Linked DNA regions of Homo sapiens: region 2 is linked to region 1. The links are contacts of gene promoters, found by promoter capture Hi-C in human tissues and cell types (Jung and others, 2019). All regions are on one chromosome and are shown on one strand. Each heading gives the region's core, a stretch centred on a gene start or on the middle of the fragment in contact. The rest is flanking DNA. Distances are from core to core; before and after follow the strand shown.

What was found. The method cuts DNA at HindIII sites, captures the fragments that hold promoters and counts their contacts. A contact is called where the count stands out against the background at its distance.
Region 2: a fragment that was not itself captured here is called in contact with the fragment with the promoter of COG6 in region 1 in 2 of the 25 tissues and cell types used here (dorsolateral prefrontal cortex and mesendoderm cells).

Annotation. Positions count from the first base shown.
Region 1 is chr13:39,653,859-39,658,458 of GRCh38, forward strand. It overlaps COG6 (component of oligomeric golgi complex 6), which reads left to right and starts at 1,804. Exons shown (of 19, transcript NM_020751.3): 1 at 1,804-2,021. The coding sequence starts at 1,869. RefSeq lists a silencer at 2,068-2,117. The HindIII fragment of the contact is 9,691 bases long and covers 1-4,600 here.
Region 2 is chr13:39,112,125-39,116,724 of GRCh38, forward strand. No RefSeq gene overlaps it. Among named protein-coding and RNA genes, the nearest start is that of NHLRC3, 76 kb to the left of the region's middle. The HindIII fragment of the contact is 4,041 bases long and covers 1-4,000 here.

The DNA of each region.
Region 1 (4,600 bases), core at 554-3,053:
CTCCCACCTCAACCTTCCAAGTAGCTGGGACCACAGGCATGCCACCACACTCGACTAGTTTTCGTATTTTTTTTTTTTTTTTTGTAGAGACAGGGTCTCGCTATGTTGCCCAGGCTGGTCTTTAACTCCTGAACTCGAGATCCCCCTGCCTAAGCCTCCCAAAGTGCTGGGAATACAGGTGTGAGCCACCATACCTGGCCTAAAAAACAGATTTGAGATGAAACTTGCATGCCATTCAATTCATTCATTTAAAGTGTACAGTTCAGTGTTTTTTAGTATATTTACAGAGTTGTGCAACCATCACCACAATTTAGCTTTAGAGTATTTTCATCTCCCCAAAAATTAACCTGTACCATGAACTGACACTCCCCATTCCCTCTTCCCAACACTCCTCTTCCCAGAACCACTCATCTACTTTCTATCTCTATTGATTTACCTATTTGGGAGATTTCACATAAAGAGGTCATACAATATGTGGTATTTCATGACCGCTCCTGACTTGGCATGTTATCATCGTCATTCCTTTTAATTGTACATATTTGCAAGCTCTACATTATATTATTGCTTTGTATATATGCAAATTCATTTGGATATATACACCTTAGGTAAACCTTTGATATTTTAATTTTGGTTACACTGAACTTAAATTTATCTGTGAAAGAGAAAAGACATCTTACAATATTGAGTCTTCCTGTTGAAGAGAACAATATATTTTTTCATTGATTTAAGTTTTATGTTCTCCCAGTAGCATTTTAAAGTTTTCTTCATCTAGGTTCTCTGTATTTTTTGTTGAATTCATACCTAGATATTGCTGCTTTTTGTATATTTTTTTCTTTTGGATAGTTGGGCCTTCTCTTCTTCATTAGAGTAGAGATGAGTGGTTTTGTCAGTGCTTTCTTTATGTGACCTCTGTAATAGGTAATTTTCCCTTAAGTCTGATATACAATATAACTATGTACATAGACATATATGAAACAAGGAAAATTTATGACAAGAGCCAAATAGTGTTTCTGACAAATAATTCACAGAAGCCCAGCGATTTTATTTTGATCCAAATTTTAAAAACTGAGAAAAGAAAGAAAAAAAGCAATGATGTTTGTTTTCCAGAGTTTCCCGGGAAGTTTTTTCAACTTGTTACATTTTTATCCATTACTTTACAGCTACATGGGCTCTGGTCCATTTGTGTCAGGGCCAAGTTCATCTTGTTTTGAGGCCTGTACACTTACACACTTTCTTCTGCCTGGGAATGATTTCTCCTCACATTCTGATTCTCCTTCAAATCTCAGTTTAAGTGTCAACTCCTCTCCAAACCTCCCTGAGTGAAGTGGGCCTTTCCCTCCATTTTCTTTCACTGTACTACTTCATCCCCTGAGCACTCATCACAACCTAATAACATCTATTAACAGCTTTGTCTGTTTCAGACACACAATGTAGATTCTCCAATGCCTACCAGAGTACCTGGCACATACTATGCCTTCAATAAATAATTTTCAAAAAAATGAATTCAGATAAGGCAAATGTAATTTAAACTTTCAGTTAACTTATATTGAATGTATATGCCAGGCACAAGTCATGGTGTATTTTACATACTACATTTGGTTGTCATCTAATTAGCTCTGAAGGTCGCAGATCCATAATTCCAAAGTCCTCTCTAATCCTATAAATTTTCTCCTTCTACCTGAGGGTCTTGTCCCGCCCCCCACATCTTCTCCGCCCCTCACGCTTCTGAGAGCCCAAGCAGGGTTACCCGGCGAAGACTTCCGGGGCCGATGCGCATGCGCGGCCGATTTGCACATGCGCAATACTCGCGCTGCCTCCGTGGTCCCTGCCTGGCTGAGGTGGCAGCAGGGGGCGGGACGCGCAGCGCTATGGCAGAGGGCAGCGGGGAAGTGGTCGCAGTGTCTGCGACCGGGGCTGCCAACGGCCTCAACAATGGGGCAGGCGGGACCTCGGCGACGACCTGCAACCCGCTGTCGCGCAAGCTGCATAAGATCCTGGAGACGCGGCTGGACAACGACAAGGTAACCGGGGCTGGCGGGGCCGGAGTCACAGGTTCCTGCGGGGCTGAGCCGGGCCAGGGGCGGCGTCTGTCAGGGACCCACCGCGGTCTCCCTCGTCCCGGCAGCAGAGGGACCGCGAGTGACCCCAGACCTGCGGGCTCCGCTGCTCTGCGGGCGCCGGGGGCGGTGAGAAGGGGGAGCCCCAGCAACCTCCGGAAAAGCGAAGGGGTTTCCTGGGTGTTCTCTCCACCTGAAAAGGTGCCTTCAAGGCTCTCTGGATGGGATTGGTGAACGGTGGTGCCTCGAGAAGTGTCCTCCAAACACCCCTGGAGGCGTTTGGCTGTGTGAGCTGGGAGAGTGGAGGAGAGCACAAGACTGGATATGAAACAGATGCAAAAGAGCAGATTCCAAGATAAGGTAGCGCAAATGGGGGTCGGGAGACCAAGAGAGCAGTGGTAGGGATAAGGGTGCATTTCCACGGACAAGTGACAACAATTGCAATAATTTGCAGCGCGAAAGAACTACCTTTGCCCGTGGCTGAAATGAACTCATATCTACTAGTTTTTGTTGAGCCAAGCGCTATGATTTGTGGGCTCAGGCTGTATTTCTTTAGAAGATAAACTGACAGCATGCTCTCACAAGTACCTCCTGAAACTTAAGTTGGACTTTACAGCTCCTCACATACCCAGCCATCTCTTCTGTCTCTGTGGGTCGCTAGGTAAATTGGTCATGACAGTGTAACATAAAGAAGAACATATGTCAAAGTTAGAGAGTTTTATAGGTGAATATGTAGGTAACTGAAAATAAGCTGTCGATAACAATTTGATTCCGATATGTAAAAAAATAACATTGCAATGTAATGAATAAGAAATTAGGGCTCTGGAGACTACCACTTATTAGATAGAACCACTAAATGTGTGCATCATGATTTGAGTAAGTCCCTTCACTAATCTCAGCTTCTGTTTAGGAATTAGGAATCCTGCTGTTAAGTTTCTCATGGTTGTTATTTGAGGACTCAGTGAGAGACTCCAGGTAAAGTCCTTTGCAAAGAGCCTGGCACTTACTCTTTCTTAACAAATATTAATTTTATCATAAAATTTATGAAGTGTTTAATGTGTCTCATATTGATATTTATTATATCATTTAAGACTGCTACTTGCTCTGATATAGATAACATGGCCTTCTTTTTTGGACAGAGTTTTGCTCTTTTTGCCCAAGCTGGAGTGCAATGGGCGCAGTCTCGGCTCACTGCAACCTCTGCCTCCCGGGTTCAAGCGATTCTCCTGCCTCAGCCTCCCAAGTAGCTGGGATTACAGGCATGTGCCACCACGCCTGGCTAATTTTGTATTTTTATTAGAGACGGGGTTTCTCCATGTTGGTCAGGCTGGTCTTGAACTCCTGACCTCAGGTGATCTGCCCGCCTCAGCCTCCCAAAGTGCTGGGATTACAAGGCGTGAACCACTGCGCCCGGCCACATAACCTTCTTTTTACCATGAGGAAAATAAAGCATGGAGAGAGTGCAGCTAGGTTGTCATATAACTAGTAACTGGTGGAACTGTAATTTGCATCTGAGTCTGTGATTTCATTCGTTCAACATTACTGATTACTTCTTTGAACCAGACCTTAGGACATTTCAAGGCTATAGTCTAAAGAAACTGCTTCACTTCATGGGTTTTTTTTTTCTGTACAGTAAGTATTTATAGTTGTAAACATATTTTTGCTTCCTCTGAAATATTAAATTGAATTTATATAAATAGTTTTACTGTTTTTGTCAATCCAGCCAATATTTCAAAATAACAAATAGAAACATGAAAGGGTAAGCCTACTAGAATATACAGTAGTGGAGGTGTAGAAATGTATATCTGCAGAATTTAGTGTACAATGGGGATGTCCTGGGCTTGGTTCTCTGCTCTCTCTTCCATTCATGTTTTCTCTGTAAGAAAAATCTTGTACTTTCATGGTTTTAAGTAGCAAAAAGCATGATTACTCTCAAATTTATAACTCTGTTTCTGACATCTACTGAGCTCCAGATTTGTAGAATTAGTTGTCTATACTATACCTCCAATTGGATACTGATTGACGTCATAGAACTTAACATGGGCGGAACTCTTGATTTTTCCCTAAACTGGTTCCGCTCTCACTAAAGAACGTCACCATTTACCCAGTCAAGCAAGAAGCATATGAATAATTTTGGATTCTTGTCACTTTTTTTTTTTTTTTTTTACATCTCCTGCAAATCCACAAACATATCTTATAGGTTCTACTTTGAAGAATATTTTTGGAATATCTTTTTTTTTTTTTTGAGACCAAGTCTCACTCTGTCGCCCAGGCTGGAGTCCAATGGAGAGAACATGGCCTTACTGTAGCCTTGATCTTGCTGGCTCAAGCGATCCTCCTGCCACAGCCTCCCAGGTAGCTGGGTCTACAGGCACATGCCACCATACCTGGCTAATTTTTTGATTTTTTTATAGAGATAGGGGTCTTACTATGTTATGCAGGCTGGTCTTGAACTGGCATCAAACTATCCTCCCAACTTGACCTCCCAAACTGCTGGGATTACAGGTGTAAGCCACCGTGCCATATTTTGGAATATCTCTTTT
Region 2 (4,600 bases), core at 730-3,229, 540 kb before region 1:
GCGCAGGGGATGGAGACAATTCACTACATAATATGTACTCATATGTCCAAGGTATATTGTTATGGTAGATTTTATTATTTTTCAAATTATTCACTGCCTCTTCCCAAAGTGAAAGTTTTCCTGGGGGCCCTTTCTCTGTTGTGTTGCTTCCTGCAGAAGGATTACACATTCCTGCCCTGTTCAGGTGGAGCTGTGTAACTTATTTAGAACAATAAAATTTGAGTGAAGTCATGTAAGTTATTTCTGAGCAGAAATTTTAAGAGCTAGTGAATAGTTCCCTATCTCTCTTTGTCCTCTGCTTGGAGACCAGTAAATCCAGATAGGGGCTTTCCCATCAAATAGGGCCCCTGTGTGAAAATAAGGGGCAGAGTTTCAGCTGACCCACAATGGCTTATTACATGAGTGAGGAATACGGGGATCTCTTGTTACTGCAGCATAACTTAGCCTAAGCTGACAAAACTGTATTACTTACTCCATCAATTATGCTACATAGTTAACATAGTCTTGCTACAAAATTCCAGTTGGTATTTAAAAAATAAGCATTTATTTCTCACTCTTGTTTGCAGGTTGGCTGAGGTCCAACTTATCTAGATTGGATTTGGCTGGCCGTGGCTTCAGGCTTAGGCTGAGTTCAGGTACATTCCACGTGCTACTCATTCTGAGACTAGAAGGTTACCCTGGACACATTCTTCTCATGACAAAAGGAAAGAGCACAAAAGGACAACCCCAAGCCTATAGATGTGTTTTAAATGGACTGCTTTCATCCCATTCAGAACATTCAATTGGCCAAAGCAAGCTTCCCGGCTAAATCCAGTATCAGCTAGGCAAGGAAATATACTCTGCCTCTTGTAGGGCAAACTGCAAAGTCTTATGACTAAGGTGGTAGATAAAGGGAGAAGGAAAGAGTAGAGAACAATAATGCAATCCACCACTAGCTGGATAATTATTTATCAGCAGGTTCAATGGGAGTCCCTTGAATTCTGTGTGCTCCTGGCATGAGCCACACCATCACCTCTCTCCCTGTGTGACATTTACAGCTGGAGAGGATCCAAATTCTGTGGGACTGAGCTTTATACACTTTGGGGTGCTCTTTTCAAGTAAAAGATCACAAAATACCAGGCAAATGTATTGCTAGCTTCTCCTGGGGTCCTCAAAAGGGCCCATGCAAATGAGGGTCTTTGAAACTGAAGCTTCTTTAGCTTCTCATTAAATCAGCCCCTGCTCACAGGCTCACCGCCGTGATCTTTCTTGTGAACAGTCGCTAAAATCTCACTTTTATGTTTACTGACTTATGTCAGTCTTCAAGTAGCTGAGGATTTCCAGATCATCCCACAATACCTATAACTATACGCATGGTTCAAATGTTACTTTCTCAAGGAGAACTTCTTTAACGAGCCTATTAAAAATTGTTTCTACCCCATAGAATCTCCATCCCTTTCCTGCTTTCCTTTTCTTGATAGAATTTATCTTATATATTACATATTTTATTTATTTGTTTGTTTATGTATTTTCTCCCACTAAAATATAAGCTCCATGAGGGTGGGATACTTCATCAGCTTTGAACATTAATATATTTTTAGTGTTTCAAAAAATGCATGGGATATGGTATGTTCTTAATAAAGATGTATTGAACAAGTATATAAAGGAAAGAGTCATGTATTCTGCTGTTTTTATTCTAATGTATGTCGAGAAAGAAAACAGTTGGAATGGAATTGATATTAAACATATTACCAAAACAGAGCTGGAAAGTACCTTAGAGATCATAGTCAAAATTTCTTACTTTATAAATTGGGAAACCTTGCAAAGTAGCTAATTTCTGGGATTTTGCAGATATGGGCATTTAAATGTATACCTTTTACATCATCTTTTTTACTGTTTTATTTTATTTTTTTAAGTTCTGTGGTACAAATGCAGGATGTGCAGGTTGGTTACATGGGTAAACATATACCATGGTGGTTTGCTGGACCTATCAGCTTAGGTATTAAGCCCAGCATCCATTAGCTCTTTTCTAATGCTCTCCCCTCCCCTCCCCTCCCCCAATAGGCCCCAGTGTGTGTTGTTCCCCTCCCTGTGCCCACGTGTTCTTGTTGTTCAACTCCCACTTATAAGTGAGAACATGTGTTGTCTGGTTTTCTGTTCCTGCATTAGTTTGCTGAGGATAATGGCTTCCAGCTTCATCCACGTCCCTGCAAAGGACATGATCTCATTCCTTTTTTGGCTGCATAATAGTCCATGGCATATATGTACCACATTTTCTTTATCCAGTCTATAATTGATGGGCATTTGGGTTGATTCTATGTCTTTGCTATTGTGAATAGTGCTGCAATGAACATACTCATGCATGTATCTTTATAATAGAATGATTTATGTTCCTTTGGGTATATACCCAGTAATGGGATTGCTGGGTCAAATGGTATTTCTGGTTCTAAATTTTTGAGGAATCACCACACTGTCTTCCACAATGGTTGAACTAATTTACATTCCCACCAACAGTGTAAAAGCCTTCCTATTTCTCCATGATCTCACCAGCATCTGTTGTTTCTTGACTTTTTAAAAATCACCATTCTGATTGGCTTGAGATGGTATCTCATTTTCATTTTGATTTGCATTTCTCTAATTGTCAGTGATGTTGAGCTTTTTATCATTTGTTTCTTGGCCACATGAATGTCTTCTTTTGAGAAGTATCTGTTCATATATTTTGCCCACTTTTTAATGGGATTGTTTTCATCCAGTAAATTTGTTTAAGTTCCTTGTAGACTCTGGATATTAGACTTTTGTCAGATGGATAGATTATAAACATATTCTCCCATTCTGTAGGTTGTCTATTCACCGTGATGATAGCTTTTTTTGCTGTGCAGAAGCTCTTTAGTTTAACTAGATCCCATTTGTCAATTTTTGCTTTTGTTGCAATTGCTTCTGGTGATTTCATCATAAAATCTTTGCCCATGCCCATGTCCTGAATGGTATTGCCTAGATTTTCTCCTAGAGTTTTTATAGTTTTGGGTTTTACATTTAAGTCTTTAATCCATCTTGAGTTAATTTTTGCATAAAGTGTAAGGAAGGAATCCAGTTTCAATTTTCTGTATATGGCTAGCCAGTTTTCCCAACACCATTTAATGAATAGGGGATCCTTTCCCCATTGCTTGTTTTTGTCAAGTTTGTCAAAGATCAGATAGTTGTAGGCATGTGGCCTTATTTCTGGGTTCTCTATTTTGTTCCATGGGTCTATGTATCTGTTTTTGTACCAGTACCATGCTGTTTTGGTTACTATAGCCTTGTAATATAGTTTGACATTGGGTGGTGTGATGCCTCCAGGTTTGTTCTTTTTGCTGAGGTTTGTCCTGGCTATATGAGCTCTTTTTTGGTTCCATATGAATTTTAGTTTTTTTTTTTTAATTCTGTGAAGAATGTCAATGATAGTTTAATGGGAATAGCATTGAATTTATGAATTGCTTTGGGCAATATGGCCATTTTCATAATATTGATTCTTCCTATCCATGAGCATGGAATGTTTTCCCATCTGCTTGTGTCCTCTCTGATTTCCTTGAGCAGTGGTTTGTAGTTCTCCTTGAAGAGATCCTTCATTTCCCTTGTTAACTGTATTCCTAGATATTTTATTCCTTTTTGTGGCAATTGTAAATGGACGTTCATTCATGATTTGGCTCTCTGTTTGTCTGTCATTGGTGTATAGGGATGCTTGTGATTTGTGCACATTGATTTTGTGTCCTGAGACTTTGCTGAAGTTGCTAATCAGGTTAAGAAGCTTTTGGGCTGAGTCAATGGTGTTTTCTAGATATAGTATCATGTCATCCACAAACAAAGACAATTTGATTTCCTCTCTTCCTACTTTTGAATACCCTTTATTTCTTTCTCTTGCCTGATTGCCCTGGCCAGAACTTCCAATACTATGTTGAATAAGAGAGAGGGCATCATTGTCTTGAGCCAGTTTTCAAAAGGAATGCTTCCAGCTTTTGCCCACTTAGTATAATATTGGCTGTGGGTCTGCCATAAATGACTCTTATTATTTTGAGGCATATTCCTTCAATACCTAGCTTATTGAGAGTTTTTAACTTTAAGGATGTTGAACTTTATTGAAGGCCTTTTCTGCATCTTTTGAGATAATCATGTAGTTTTTGTCTTTAGTTCTGTTTATGTGATGAATTACATTTATTGATTTGCATATGTTGAACCAGCCTTGTATCCTGGGGATGAAACCAGCTTGATCATGGTGGATAAGCTTTTTGATGTACTACTGGATTCAGTTTGCCAATATTTTAGTGAGGATTTTTGCATCAGTGTTCATCAGGGATATTAGCCTGAAGTTTTCTTTGTTGTATCTCCACCAGGTTTTGGTATCAAGATGCTGGCCTCATAAAATGAGTCAGGGAGGAGTCACTTCTTTTCAATTGTTTGGAATAGTTTCAGAAGACATGGTACCAGCTCCTCTTTGTGCCTCTGGTAGAAATCAGCTTTGTTGAGGGGTTGGTAGGCTGTTTATTACTACCTCAATTTTGGAACTTGTTATTGGTCTATTCAGGGATTCAACTTCTTCATGGTTCAGTCTTGGGAGGGTGTATGTGTCCAGGAATTTATCCATTTC